Regions from separate parts of the Homo sapiens genome. Here region 1 is linked to region 2. Evidence: promoter capture Hi-C in human tissues and cell types (Jung and others, 2019). All regions are on one chromosome and are shown on one strand. Each heading gives the region's core, a stretch centred on a gene start or on the middle of the fragment in contact. The rest is flanking DNA. Distances are from core to core; before and after follow the strand shown. Region 1 holds the start of CLIC3 (chloride intracellular channel 3). Region 2 has its middle 8.2 kb from the start of DIPK1B.

What was found. The method cuts DNA at HindIII sites, captures the fragments that hold promoters and counts their contacts. A contact is called where the count stands out against the background at its distance.
Region 1: a contact is called between the fragment with the promoter of CLIC3 here and a fragment that was not itself captured in region 2, in 1 of the 25 tissues and cell types used here (dorsolateral prefrontal cortex).

Annotation. Positions count from the first base shown.
Region 1 is chr9:136,995,052-137,001,129 of GRCh38, reverse strand. CLIC3 (chloride intracellular channel 3) reads left to right here and starts at 4,562. Exons shown (of 6, transcript NM_004669.3): 1 at 4,562-4,619; 2 at 5,373-5,482; 3 at 5,563-5,688; 4 at 5,838-5,944; 5 at 6,025-6,078. The coding sequence starts at 4,587. RefSeq lists an enhancer at 845-964. The HindIII fragment of the contact is 25,713 bases long and covers 1-6,078 here.
Region 2 is chr9:136,701,421-136,707,307 of GRCh38, reverse strand. No RefSeq gene overlaps it. Among named protein-coding and RNA genes, the nearest start is that of DIPK1B, 8.2 kb to the left of the region's middle. The HindIII fragment of the contact is 6,599 bases long and covers 1-4,594 here.

The DNA of each region.
Region 1 (6,078 bases), core at 3,313-5,812, 290 kb before region 2:
CTTTGGGACCAGAATCTGAGCTCTGGTCTGCACACTGCTCCCGAGGTCTCGCTGCCCCCGAGGTCCCGCCGCCCCCGAGGTCCCGCCGCCCCCGAGGTCTCGCCGCCCCCGAGGTCACGCCGCCCCCGATGTCTCGCCGCCCCCGAGGTCTCACCGCTCCCGAGGTCTCACTGCTTCTAGGCTCTCTCCATGCACAGAGCAGATAAATCTCTGCACAAGTTTGCACCAATACCCCAATGCCCCCAGCCCTCCGGCCCCCCAAACAGGTGTGTGTCTCCCTTCAGAACAGAGCTGCTCAAATGTCACTGGGGTGTGGCCCTGTGCAGGCGGAGGCAGGAGGATCACTGGAGCCCAGGAGGTGGAGGCTGCAGTGAGCTATGACTGCGCCATTGCACTCCAGCCTGGGTGACAGAGTGAAACCCTGTCTCAAAAAAAAAAAAAAAAAAAAAAAAAAAGAGCCCCTTGGAAGGGGCCTACAGGGAGGGGTGTTGGGGAGGGAGAGAGTTCTAACCCACCAGTCAGTCAGTCCCAGAGCAGCAGCCTCGGGACCTCAGCTTGGGCCCCTCTAACGCTGGCTCTATGAATCAGGAGCAGGGGCTGCAGGGGACGGGAGGTTTAGGGATAACCCCGTGGCCTCGGGGACCAGGGTCTAGTTAAGGTTAGTGGCTGTGATACTGTTCTTACTTCAAAACATTATGAAATTGTGGTAGAAAATGTGGTATTACAAAAATGTGGTAGAAAATGCAAACAGTGTGGACAGACAGGAAGCAAAACTGAAAGCCTGTTTCTGCCTGTCAGGGGTCATCCCACAGACAGCTCCTTGCGTCTTTTTTCAGCTCTGTTCAAGTAGAGACTCAGAATGACAGATCCTAATGCTGATTTTCTTCCATTTCCTGGCTTCTCCCTGCTTTACTTATTAGCTTGCTGGCGCTGCCATGCAAAGGACCACAAAGTGAGGGGTTTAAAACAACAGAAACTGACTTTGGGAGGCCGAGGTGGGCGGATCACTTGAGGTCAGGAGTTTGAGACCAGCCTGACCAACATGGTGAAACCCCGTCTCTACTAAAAATACAAAAATTAGCCAGGCGTGGTGGTGGGCGCCTGTAATCCCAGCTACTCGGGAGGCTGGGGCAGGAGAATCGCTTCAGCCGGTGAGGCGCGGGTTGCAATGAGCCGAGATTGAGCCATTGCACTCCAGCCTGGGTGACAGTGAGACTCCATCTTAAAACAACAACACCGCGGGGCGCGGGAGCTCACGCCTGTAATCCCAGCACTTTGGGAGGCCGAGGCGAGCGGATCACGAGGTCAGGAGATCGAGACCATCCTGGCTAACGCAGTGAAACCCCGTCTCTACTAAAAATACAAAAATTAGCCAGGTGTGGTAGCGGGCGCCTGTAGTCCCAGCTACTTGGGAGGCTGAGACAGGAGAATGGCGTGAACCTGGGGAGGCAGAACTTGCAGTGAGCCGAGATTGTGCCACTGCACTCCAGCCTGGGCGACAGAGCAAGACTGCATCTCATTAAAAAAAAAAAACAAAAAAAACAGAAGCTCACTGCCTAGCAGTCTGGAGGTCAGACATAGCACCTAGGCTTGGGCAGGGCTGCTTCCTCCCAAGGGCCTTGGAGAGCATCCGCTTGGCTCCCAGGCTTACAGATGTGCCACCCTGATTTCTGCCTGCGGCCCTCCCTGTGCATCTGTGTCCAAACTCGCCTTTCTATACTGACATCAGTCATATTGGATCAGGGCACATCCTACTCACCACATTTTAACTTGATAACTTCTATAAAGACCCTATTTCAGCCGGGTGCGGTGGCTCACACCTGTATTCCCAGCATTTTGGGAGGCCAAGGTGGGTAGATCTTCTGAGGTCAGGAGTTCGAGACCAGCCTGATCAACATGGTGAAACCCTGTCTCTACTACAAATACAAGGAAAAAAAAAAAAAGCTCAGCGTGGTGACGTGTACCTGTAATCCCAGCTACTCCAGAGGCTGAGAAAGTAGAATTGCTTGAACCCAGGAGGCAGAAGTTGCAGTGAGCCGAGATTGCACCACTGCATTCCAGCCTGGGCAACAGAGCAAGACTCTGTCTCAAAAAAAATGTTAAAAAGCCCCTGTTTCCACATAAGGTCACATTCTTTATTTTTTTTCCAAGATGGAGTCTTGCTCTGTTGCCCAGGCTGGAATGCAGTGGCACTATCTCTGCTCACTGCAACTCTGTCTCCCGGGTTCAAGCACTTCTCCTGCCTCAGCTTCCCGAGTAGCTGGGATTACAGGTGCCTGCCACTATGCCTGGCTAATTTTTGTATTTTTAGTAGAGACGGGGTTTCACCATGTTGGTCAGGCTGGTCTCAAACTCCTGACCTCAGGTGATCCACCCCCCTCGGCCTCCCAGACTGCTGGGATTACAGGCATGAGTCACCGTGCCCGGCCCATATAAGGTCACATTCTGAGGCACTAGGGGTTAGGACTCCAGCCTAAGAATTTAAATTTAAGGGGACACAAGCCACGCCATTTACCTAATCTCAGGCCCTCCCTGCAGTGGGCATGCATGGAGTCACCTTTTCCGTCCTTCTCCCTGGACACAACTGGAGTCTCCCATAGACAGGGTGGTGGCCGTGCCACGGAGCCACGCCACGCCACGCCACGCCACGCAGTGGGGCAGCCAGCACTCACTTGCCCTTCACAGGGAAACCGGCCGGGTGTGGCAGCTCGCGCCTGTAGTTCCAGCACTGTGGGAGACCAAGGCAGGTGGGTCACTTGAGCCCATGAGGTGGAGACCAGCCTGGGCAACATGGCAGGACCCTGTTTCTAGTAAATAAATGAATTGATTAAACCATAAAAAAAAAAGGAAGCCACCGGGCTGATTCCCAGGTGGCGAGGGCACAGGGGGGTGTTGGATGGCCACTGCCGCTCCACAGTCCACAGCCCACGCCCACAGAACGCAGTGGGGCCGCTGCAGCGGTGAACCGAGTCTTGTTGGTTTGTTTCTTGAGACGGGCGTGAGGTGAATGGTCTTCCTGTGTCTTGTTTTCTTTTTCCTTCTGAGCCACCGGTTCACGGCCTCTGTCCGTGCCGTCATTTTTCCTGTGGGTTTGTGAGGGTGCGTCTGTCGGTGTTAAAGACACAGGATGCCGGGGCAGCAGAGGGGGCTGGGGGCCTGGGGCTTCTCTGTGGTTGGCCATTTGCCTGCCAGGGATGTGGGAAACCAGCAAGCGGAGCTATAACCACAGTGTCCAGAAAGAGCTGAAATACTAGGGCTTGGAATCGAGGTGGAGGCCGGATGGAGGGAAATTGAGGTTCAGGACACCAAAGGATGGGGCAGCCACATGGTATTTCCAAGGCTCTGTGTCCAGGAGCCCCGACTGGCGTGGTATCCAGAGAAGCATCAGGCTGGGCTGACTGGGGCAGCACTGGAGTGTGTTCCACCGGGGACGGATGAGGGGCCCGTACCAAGGCCCTGGGGAGAAGGTGAGCAGGAGAGCAGTGCCACCTCAGCTGCCCTGTCCAGGCTGGTGAGGCACCACACCGCCTGGGGGAGGTGTGGCCAGGCCAATCCTGTGGGCACCCCAGGTCTCTGGGTGGAATCTCCCCTCGGTGTACCTCCCTGGGGCTGCACCCTAAAGCGTCAGGGCCAGGTGGGAGGAAGGCACAGTTGGCGACCCCAAAGGGCCAGACTGAACTGTGGGTTCCAATCACGCCAGGAGGCTCAGCGCAGGCTCACACCTGTGGACCACCACCCTCCCCTGGCCTCTTTCTTCCAGCCACGCAGGCTGTGGCTTCTAACCCCTCTCCTGCTGCTTCTTTTTAAAGGTTAAGGGGTTGGGGGTAAGAAACCTGCGCTGAGCGCCAGTGGGAGGGATGGGAGGTGGGGTGGAGACCTGCACTGCCGGCCAAACACCAAAGCCAGGCTGGCCTCCCCGCCCTGTTGCGGGCAGGTCTGGAATTTGAGCCCTGCCCTGAGCGGGGAGGGCCCTGCCTGACTGCTCCGTAGCTGGGAAGGGGCGGCTCCCCCAGGTGGGCTTATCACCCTCCCGATGCCCTGGTGCTGCAGATGGGGAACTGAAGCCAGGCTGGGCAGGCCATTTCTCCTGCTCACCCACACCCACTGGCTTTCTGGGCTGGGAGCCCTGACAAGGGGTATTTGCGGAAGGGAGAGCCATAGGGCAGGGTCTGAGCTGGGTTCACGGTGGAGGTGGTCCTGACCCAGAGCCGCCCCCTTCCCAGGTGACACCCCCTGCACCCTTCTGGCCTGTAGGCTCTCCCTATGCCCTGCCCCCTGGTCTCCACCCACCACGCTGGCTCCCAGCACACTCAGTACCGGGTGGGCGGATCTCCGTGCACACCAGACTCAAGTCCAGGGCAGCCCCCCACACCATTCCGCCACCCTGAGGTCACACCCTCAGGCTCAGACACCCCGGGGCCGGGCTGGCGTTGCTCAGGCAGCTGGTTCTGCGCGCTGGGCAGCTTCATCTGCCCGCCTAGGTGGCTCCACGGGGCGGGCCCCTCGGCCAGGGAGGGCGGGGCGCACAGGGAGACTTAAAGAGCTCCCCAGGTCCCCACCCGCGCCTGACCGCGGCAGCTCCCACCATGGCGGAGACCAAGCTCCAGCTGTTTGTCAAGGTGCAGGGCGGACTCAGCTGCGGGGAGGGTGTCTGGGAGGAAGCGCTTTTCTGGGCTTTGCTTTCTGTGGCAGGCTGTGGGGTGGGCCTCCCAGTAATGTCTGAGCCCCTTCCTGTGGGTGGCTAGGGGGACTCAGGCAGCCCTACAGAGGCTGAGTAAAGTGGGACCCAGCGAGTCACCCAGAGAGGGGTCAGTGGCCCTGGTCCTGCTCCCAGCCTTGGCTCCTGGGCCCAGCCCAGTCTTCTGGAGGAGAGCTCCTTGGTGGGGAGGTACCAAGCAGGCTGCCAACAGTGGAGCTTACGGTCGGTGTTCCAGGATGGGGGGTGCTGGGCCAGGCAGCCCCATCAGCTCTCAGGTCGGGGACTGGGGTGGGGGACTGATGTGCTGTTGGCCACAGTGCCCAGTCTCATGTGTGAATCACTCAGAAAACAGCTTGTGAGGCCCACCCCACCCCTGCAACCAGCTTTTGGGGACTGAGCCCAGGGGCCTGGCCTCTGTCCAGGCTCTGACAAGATTCCAGGGGCCAAGCCTGCCCCAGGCCTCAAGGCTCCCAGCAGCTCTGCCCCCCTCCCCACGTTCTGGGGACCAAGTCAAGGGCCCTCACTGGGCACTTGGAAGTCGCGCCGACCAAGCTGGAGCCCTGGCGTCCCTCCAATCCCACTGGCAGTGGGAGGCGGGTCCCGCCCAGCCTGGCGGCAGGATGCCTGGGTCTGCTTCCAGCCCTGACCCCCCACCCCCGCTCCACCCACCCAGGCGAGTGAGGACGGGGAGAGCGTGGGTCACTGCCCCTCCTGCCAGCGGCTCTTCATGGTCCTGCTCCTCAAGGGCGTACCTTTCACCCTCACCACGGTGGACACGCGCAGGTGAGGCCCCATCCTGTGGACCCCCGCCTGGCCTCGCACACTGGTGGGCCGGCCTCCTCCCACCCCGCTGCTGCCCGCAGGTCCCCGGACGTGCTGAAGGACTTCGCCCCCGGCTCGCAGCTGCCCATCCTGCTCTATGACAGCGACGCCAAGACAGACACGCTGCAGATCGAGGACTTTCTGGAGGAGACGCTGGGGCCGCCCGAGTGAGAGCCCCGGCAGGGTGGGAGGGGAAAAGAGGGGGGCCCAGGGAGGACGCGCGCAAGACAGAGCCCAGGAAGGCGCTGTGGGGGTACTGTGGGGCCGGGACGGGGCTGCCCCCAGTCTAATGGAGTCCCACCCCCTCATCCCGCAGCTTCCCCAGCCTGGCGCCTCGTTACAGGGAGTCCAACACCGCCGGCAACGACGTTTTCCACAAGTTCTCCGCGTTCATCAAGAACCCGGTGCCCGCGCAGGACGAAGGTGAAGCGGGGTCAGGGGGTCGGGTGCCCAGGCGGGAGGGCGCCCTGGGCCTGGTCCTCACCGCGCCGCCTGCCCCCTAGCCCTGTACCAGCAGCTGCTGCGCGCCCTCGCCAGGCTGGACAGCTACCTGCGCG
Region 2 (5,887 bases), core at 46-2,545:
ATCATCTGTATCATGGCACCTGTGGACATCAGAAGTCCTAACCTGCCCACAGGTGGCCAGTGGCGGGGCGTGTACGGGGAACACACCTAAGTGTATTGGAGACCTGGCCATGTGAATGCAAGCTGGTCTTGCTCCTCCCCTGCCAGTGGTGTGGCAAAAAGGCATTGGCAGGATCCAAGACAGTGTACCAAGTACCCGGAGCCCACGTGATGGGCTCGGTATGGTCACAGTGTGTAGGACAGCTAGGGCTCTGGGAGCAATGGCTGACTTCTGTTGGTGGTAATCCACTGTCAGCCACCAGCAGCTCTTACCTGCTCCACTGGCCACTCAGGGATGTTGTGTTGCCATATTTCATCTCTTTTTTTTTTTTTTGACACGGAGTGTCACCCAGTGATTGTCACCCAGGCTGGAGTGCAGTGGCGTGATCTCGGCTCACTGCAGCCTCTGCCTCCTGGGTTCACATGATTCTCCTGCCTCAGCCTCGCGAGTAGCTGGAACTATAGGGGCCCGCCACTATGCCCAGCTAATTTTTGTAGTTTTAGTAGAGACTGGGTTTCTCCATGTTGGCCAGGCTGGTCTTGAACTCCTGACCTCAGATGATTCACCCGCCTCGGCTTCCCAAAGTGCTGGGATTAGAAGCTTGAGCCACCACGACCAGCCTTTATTTTTTTGAGGCAGACTCTCACCCTGTTGTCCAGGCTGGAGTGCAGTGGCACGATCTCGGCTCACTGCAACCTCCACCTCCCGGGTTCAAGTGATGGGTTCAAGGGATTCTTATGCCTCAGCCTCCCGAATAGCTGGGACTATAGGTGCCCGCCACCACACCTGGCTAATTTTTTTGTATTTTTAGTAGAGACGGGGTTTCACCATGTTGACCAGGCTGGTCTCTAACTCCTGGTGTCAAGTGATCTACCGGCCTCAGTCTCTCAAAGTGCTGGGATTACAGGCGTGAGCCACCACGCCCAGCCCCATATTTCATCTCTTAGTCCCCCTACTGCCCTTAATCCCTCAATCAAACCTCTGATGCGCCTTTTTCCCTCTGGGATTCTGTACCGCTTCTGGGATTCTGTACCCGCCCTGAAAGCGGGTTGCAGAGAGATTCACACATCCCACTGGCCCTTCTCTGCATTCAGTGCTTGCCAATAGGGAGAGTCCCCTCTGGCACGTACAGGATGGAAGTATGGGGATGAAACACAGCTCCTACGCGGCAACACACACATAGAAGCATCAAAAACAGGGCATCGAATTGGCCCAAAATGCCACACCCACAAGATCACATCAGCCTTCACTCCCCATTTCAAACCGTGCACAAATCCGGTGAGCGGAATCCAGAGAACTTTTCCTTCCACTGGTCCAAACAGGAGAGTGATGTGGGCTACTCATATCCGACAGAGCCATAAAGTTTGAGTTCTTCTTCTCCTCCAAGTTCTCCAGCACACTTGGATGGTGCCCACGGCCTGGGAACCTCTAATCATCTTTCTTCCTAACGTAAGTGGAGGGGGGTGAGAGGTGGAAGGAGGAAGTCCATGAACAAGGTTCTGCGTTTATTTTCAGGCAGCGTGGCAACGGCTCATGACTCAGCCAGGGACTGTTCCATGATTTTCAATCCATCCAATGCTCCGTACCAGGCAGTGAGCTTCTCACAGCTGACCCATCTACTTCAGTTTTGGGAGCCCCATGGCTTAGTAGCCATTGCCATGTTGTTTTCAGCTGGATCTGTGGAGTTTGCACCATTTGGCCAACTCGAGCTTGGTGTCCCAGTGGCAATCTTATTTGAGGATTCTTCCTACTTTAGACAAAATAGATGTAACAGAGTTGATTTGAGCATTAAAGGAGGCATGAATCAGGCAGCACTCAAAGGTGGAAGAGGCTCTGGGAGCTCTGTCTTAGCAGTGTGAGCAGCAGGCTTTTACAGGCTGAATGTGGAAGTGAAGTACGGAAATAACTCAAGGCCAGGCTAGGCACCGTGGCTCACACCTGTAATCCCAGCAGTTTGGGAGGCCGAGGCAGGCAGATCACATGAGGTCAGGAGTTCAAGACCAGCCTGGCCAACATGGTGAAACCCCGTCTTTACTAAAAATACAAAAATTAGCTGGGCATGGTGGTGTGCACCTGTAATCCCAGCTAATCGGGAGGCTGAGGCAGGAGAATCGCTTGAACCCAGGAGGCGGAGGTTGCAGTGAGCCGAGATCACACCACTGCACTCCAGCCTGAGCAACAGAGCATGACTCTGTCTCAAAAAAAAAAAAAAAAAAGAAAAAGAAAAAAAAAAGAAAAGAAATAACTCAAGACCTTTGCCTTATTTGGGTGTGGTCTGATTGGTTGGCTGCCCGTGATTGATTGGTTGAAACCTGGCTATCTGTTAACAAACTACTGAATAAAGTTGTTGTTGGTTAGTGGGAACTCCCAGTACAGAGACGGCCTCAGGCAATGACTGCTCCTTATTTTGCTTTAAACAACTTTAATCTAGCCGGGCAGGGCATGGTGGCTCACGCCTGTAATCCCAGCCTTTTGGGAGGCCGAGGCGGGCAGATCACCTGAGGTCAGGAGTTCCAGACCAGCCTGGCCACCATGGTGAAAGTCCTTCTCTACCAAAAATACAGAAATTAGCCACGCATGGTGGCAGGTGCATGTAGTCCCAGCTACTCGGGAGGCTGAGGCAGAAGAATCGCTTGAACCTGGGAAGCAGGGGTTGCAGTGAGTCAAGATCGTGTCACTGCACTCCAGCCTGGGTGACAAGAGCAAAACTCATCTCAAAATAAATAAATAGATAAATATAAATAAATAAAATTCAGTGGTGCCTCTTCCTCCTGCTCCAGCCACGTAGGACACACCTGTGTCCCCTTCACCTTCTGCCACGATGATGTTTCCTGAGGCCTCCCCAAAAGCAGAAGCCGCTATGCTTTCTGTACAGTCTGAGGAACTGTGGGCCAATTCAACCTCTTTTCTTTCTAAATTACCCAGTCTCAGGTATTTCTTTGTACCCATGTGAGAATGGACTAATATAGATGGTTTTGGGAGGTGGTGCCTTTGGGAGGTGACAAGGTCATAAGGGTGGAGTTCTCATGAATGAGATCAGGGCCTTTATAAAGGAGACCCCTGGCCGGGCACGGGGCCTCAAGCCTGTAATCCCAGCACTTTGGGAGGCCGAGGCAGGTGAATCACCTGAGGTCAGGAGTTCGAGATCGGCCTGGCCAACATGGTGAAACCCCGTCTCTACTAAAAATACAAAAATCAGCCTGGGGTGGTGGCGGGCACCTGTAATCCCAGCTACTCGGGAGGCTGGGGCAGGAGAGTCACTTGAACCCGGGAGGCGGAGGTTGCAGTGAGCCAAGATTGCGCCATTACACTCCAACCTGGGCAACAAGAGCGAAACTCCATCTCAAAAAAAAAAAAGAAGAGACCCCCACCCCGGCTGCCAGGAGACCCCTGACTGCATTCACCACGTGACGTCTATCAGGAGGCGGGCGCTCACCAGACACGGAATCTGCCTGCACCTCGATATTGGACTTTCTGGCCTCCATCACTGTGAGAAATGCATTTCCATTGTTTGTAAGCCACCTGGCTTGTGGTGTTTTGTCAAAGCTGACTAGGACAGTCACTTTCCCTTCACCAGGACTGCAAACCCCGTGTCTCAACTGTGGCTTCCTGTGAGTTTGTCTGTCAGCAAAACCTCCTGAAATGGGCCAGAGCCCCCCTTAGAGCAGCAGGACATGCCACAGACTTCAGAGACCTTTCACTGTGCCCCCAGGACAGATCTAGAGTTGGCTGGAAAGGTGCAGGAGCAGCTGGGCCATGCCTCCTTAATAACACTGGGGGCTCCACCCCCATCTGTCAAGGGAACCAAAGCTCCAAGGACTTCCTAGTTTCTGCCCTCGGTGGGAGTGCAGCTGCGGTCAGGAGACCTACACATCTGTGACTGTCAGAGCGGCAAGACCTTCTGCTCGCAGAGACACATCTTTTCTTTCTCTCTTTCTTTCTTTTGAGACAGAGTCTCGCTCTTGTCGCCCAGATTGGAGTGCTGTGGTGTGATCTCGGCTCACCGCAACCTCCGCCTCCCTGGTTCAAGCAATTCTCCTGCCTCAGCCTCCCGAGTAGCTGGGATTACAGGCATCTGCCACCAGGCCCAGCTAATTTTTTGTAGTTTTAGTAGAGATGGGATTTCACCTTGTTGGCCAGGCTGGTCTCGAACTCCTGACCTCAGGTGATCCACCCGCCTTGGCCTCCCAGAGTGCTGGGGTTACAGGCGTGAGCCACCGCGCCCGGCCCTCTAAATCATTTTTAAGCACACAGTCAGTGACATTAGGTATGTTCACATTGTTGTACAGCCCTCACTGCCATCTGGCTCCAGAACTTTTCCATCTTGTAAAACTATCTTGAACTATACAGGTGCAGTGGCTCACACCTGTAATCCCAGCACTTTGGGAGGCCGAGGCGGGCAGATCACCTGAGGTCAAGAGTTTGAGACCAGCCTGGCCAACATGGTGAAAACCCATCTCTACTAAAAATACAAATATTAGCTGGGTGTGGTGGTGGGCGCCTATAATCCCAGCTACTCGGGAGGCCGAGGCAGGAGAATCGCGGGAACCGGGGAGACGGAGGTTGCAGAGAGCCGAGATCGCGCCATTTTACTCCAGCCTGGGTGACAGAGTGAGACTCCATCTCAAAAAAAAAAAAAAAAAAAAAAAGGCAAAATTGATCTCACTCGAGGTCTTTAACCTAATTACAGCTGTAAAGACCCCATTTCCACAGAAAGTTACATTTACACATTCCAGGGGGACTTATCTTTTGGGGGGCACCATTTAACCCACTGCAGTATCAAAATCAAGGTGCAGGGCAGCACGTGCAGTGTGGTACCATTTTCATTTTTGTCATTTAGCTCTGTGTGTGTGTGTGCACATGGGTGTGTGCCCGCGTGCGTGTGTGTGTGTGTGTGTCAATCTCCCTGTGTTCCTTCCATGTATAGGTGATTGAACCTCTCTTGCTATTTTTTTTTTTTTTATCCGAGACAGAGTTTCACTTTTGTCACCCAGGCTGGAGTGCAGTGGCACGATCTCGGCTCACTGCAACCTCCACCTCCCAGGTTCAAGCAATTCTCCTGCCTCAGCCTCCTGAGTAGCTGGGACTACAGGCGCGCACCACCATGCCCGGCTAATTTTTTGTATTTTTAGTAGAGATGGAGTTTCACCATGTTGGCCAGGCTGGTCTCGAACCCCTGACCTCAGGTGGTCCACCCGCCTTGGCCTCCGAAAGTGCTGGGATTACAGACGTGAGCCACCATATCCAGCCCTCTCTTGCTATTTGCAAAGGTGTAAGTGGGGGGACTGAATCGTGTCCCCACTAAATTCCTTCCTGGAAGCCCTAACCTGCAAGGAGAGGGTATTGACGATGTAGCCTATGGGAGGTGCCTGGGGGTGGATGAGGTCATGAGGGTGGGCCTTAGTAGAAAGGGCACAGGTGCCCTCCCCTTATTCCTTATCCCACCCTCGCGTCAGGACGCAGCAAGAAGGCACTAGAGAAGGGAGGCAGGGCTGAGAACGGGGAAAAGGGCTGGATCCTTAGAGAGGCCAGGGCTGGGAACCTCAGGCGGGTTCCCAGGATCTGCCAGGAAGAGGACCCTCACCAGAGCCGGACCACGGGGCGCCCCCACCCCCAGCCTCCAGACCCGTGGGGAGGAAACGTCTGCTTTGTGAGGATGTCCTGGCCGGCGGAGACAAACCTGAATCCTGCGGGCGCTGGGGCCCCCGGATCCTCCACAGCTGCTCAAAATGAGGGTGACGCAGAGAGACACCACAATAAACTCGAAAGTAGCAGACGGTGAAACCGTCTCCATGCTGTCAACGTGTGAGCAACGTTCAGCGTCCGAGTCACAGGGAACACAGGAGGC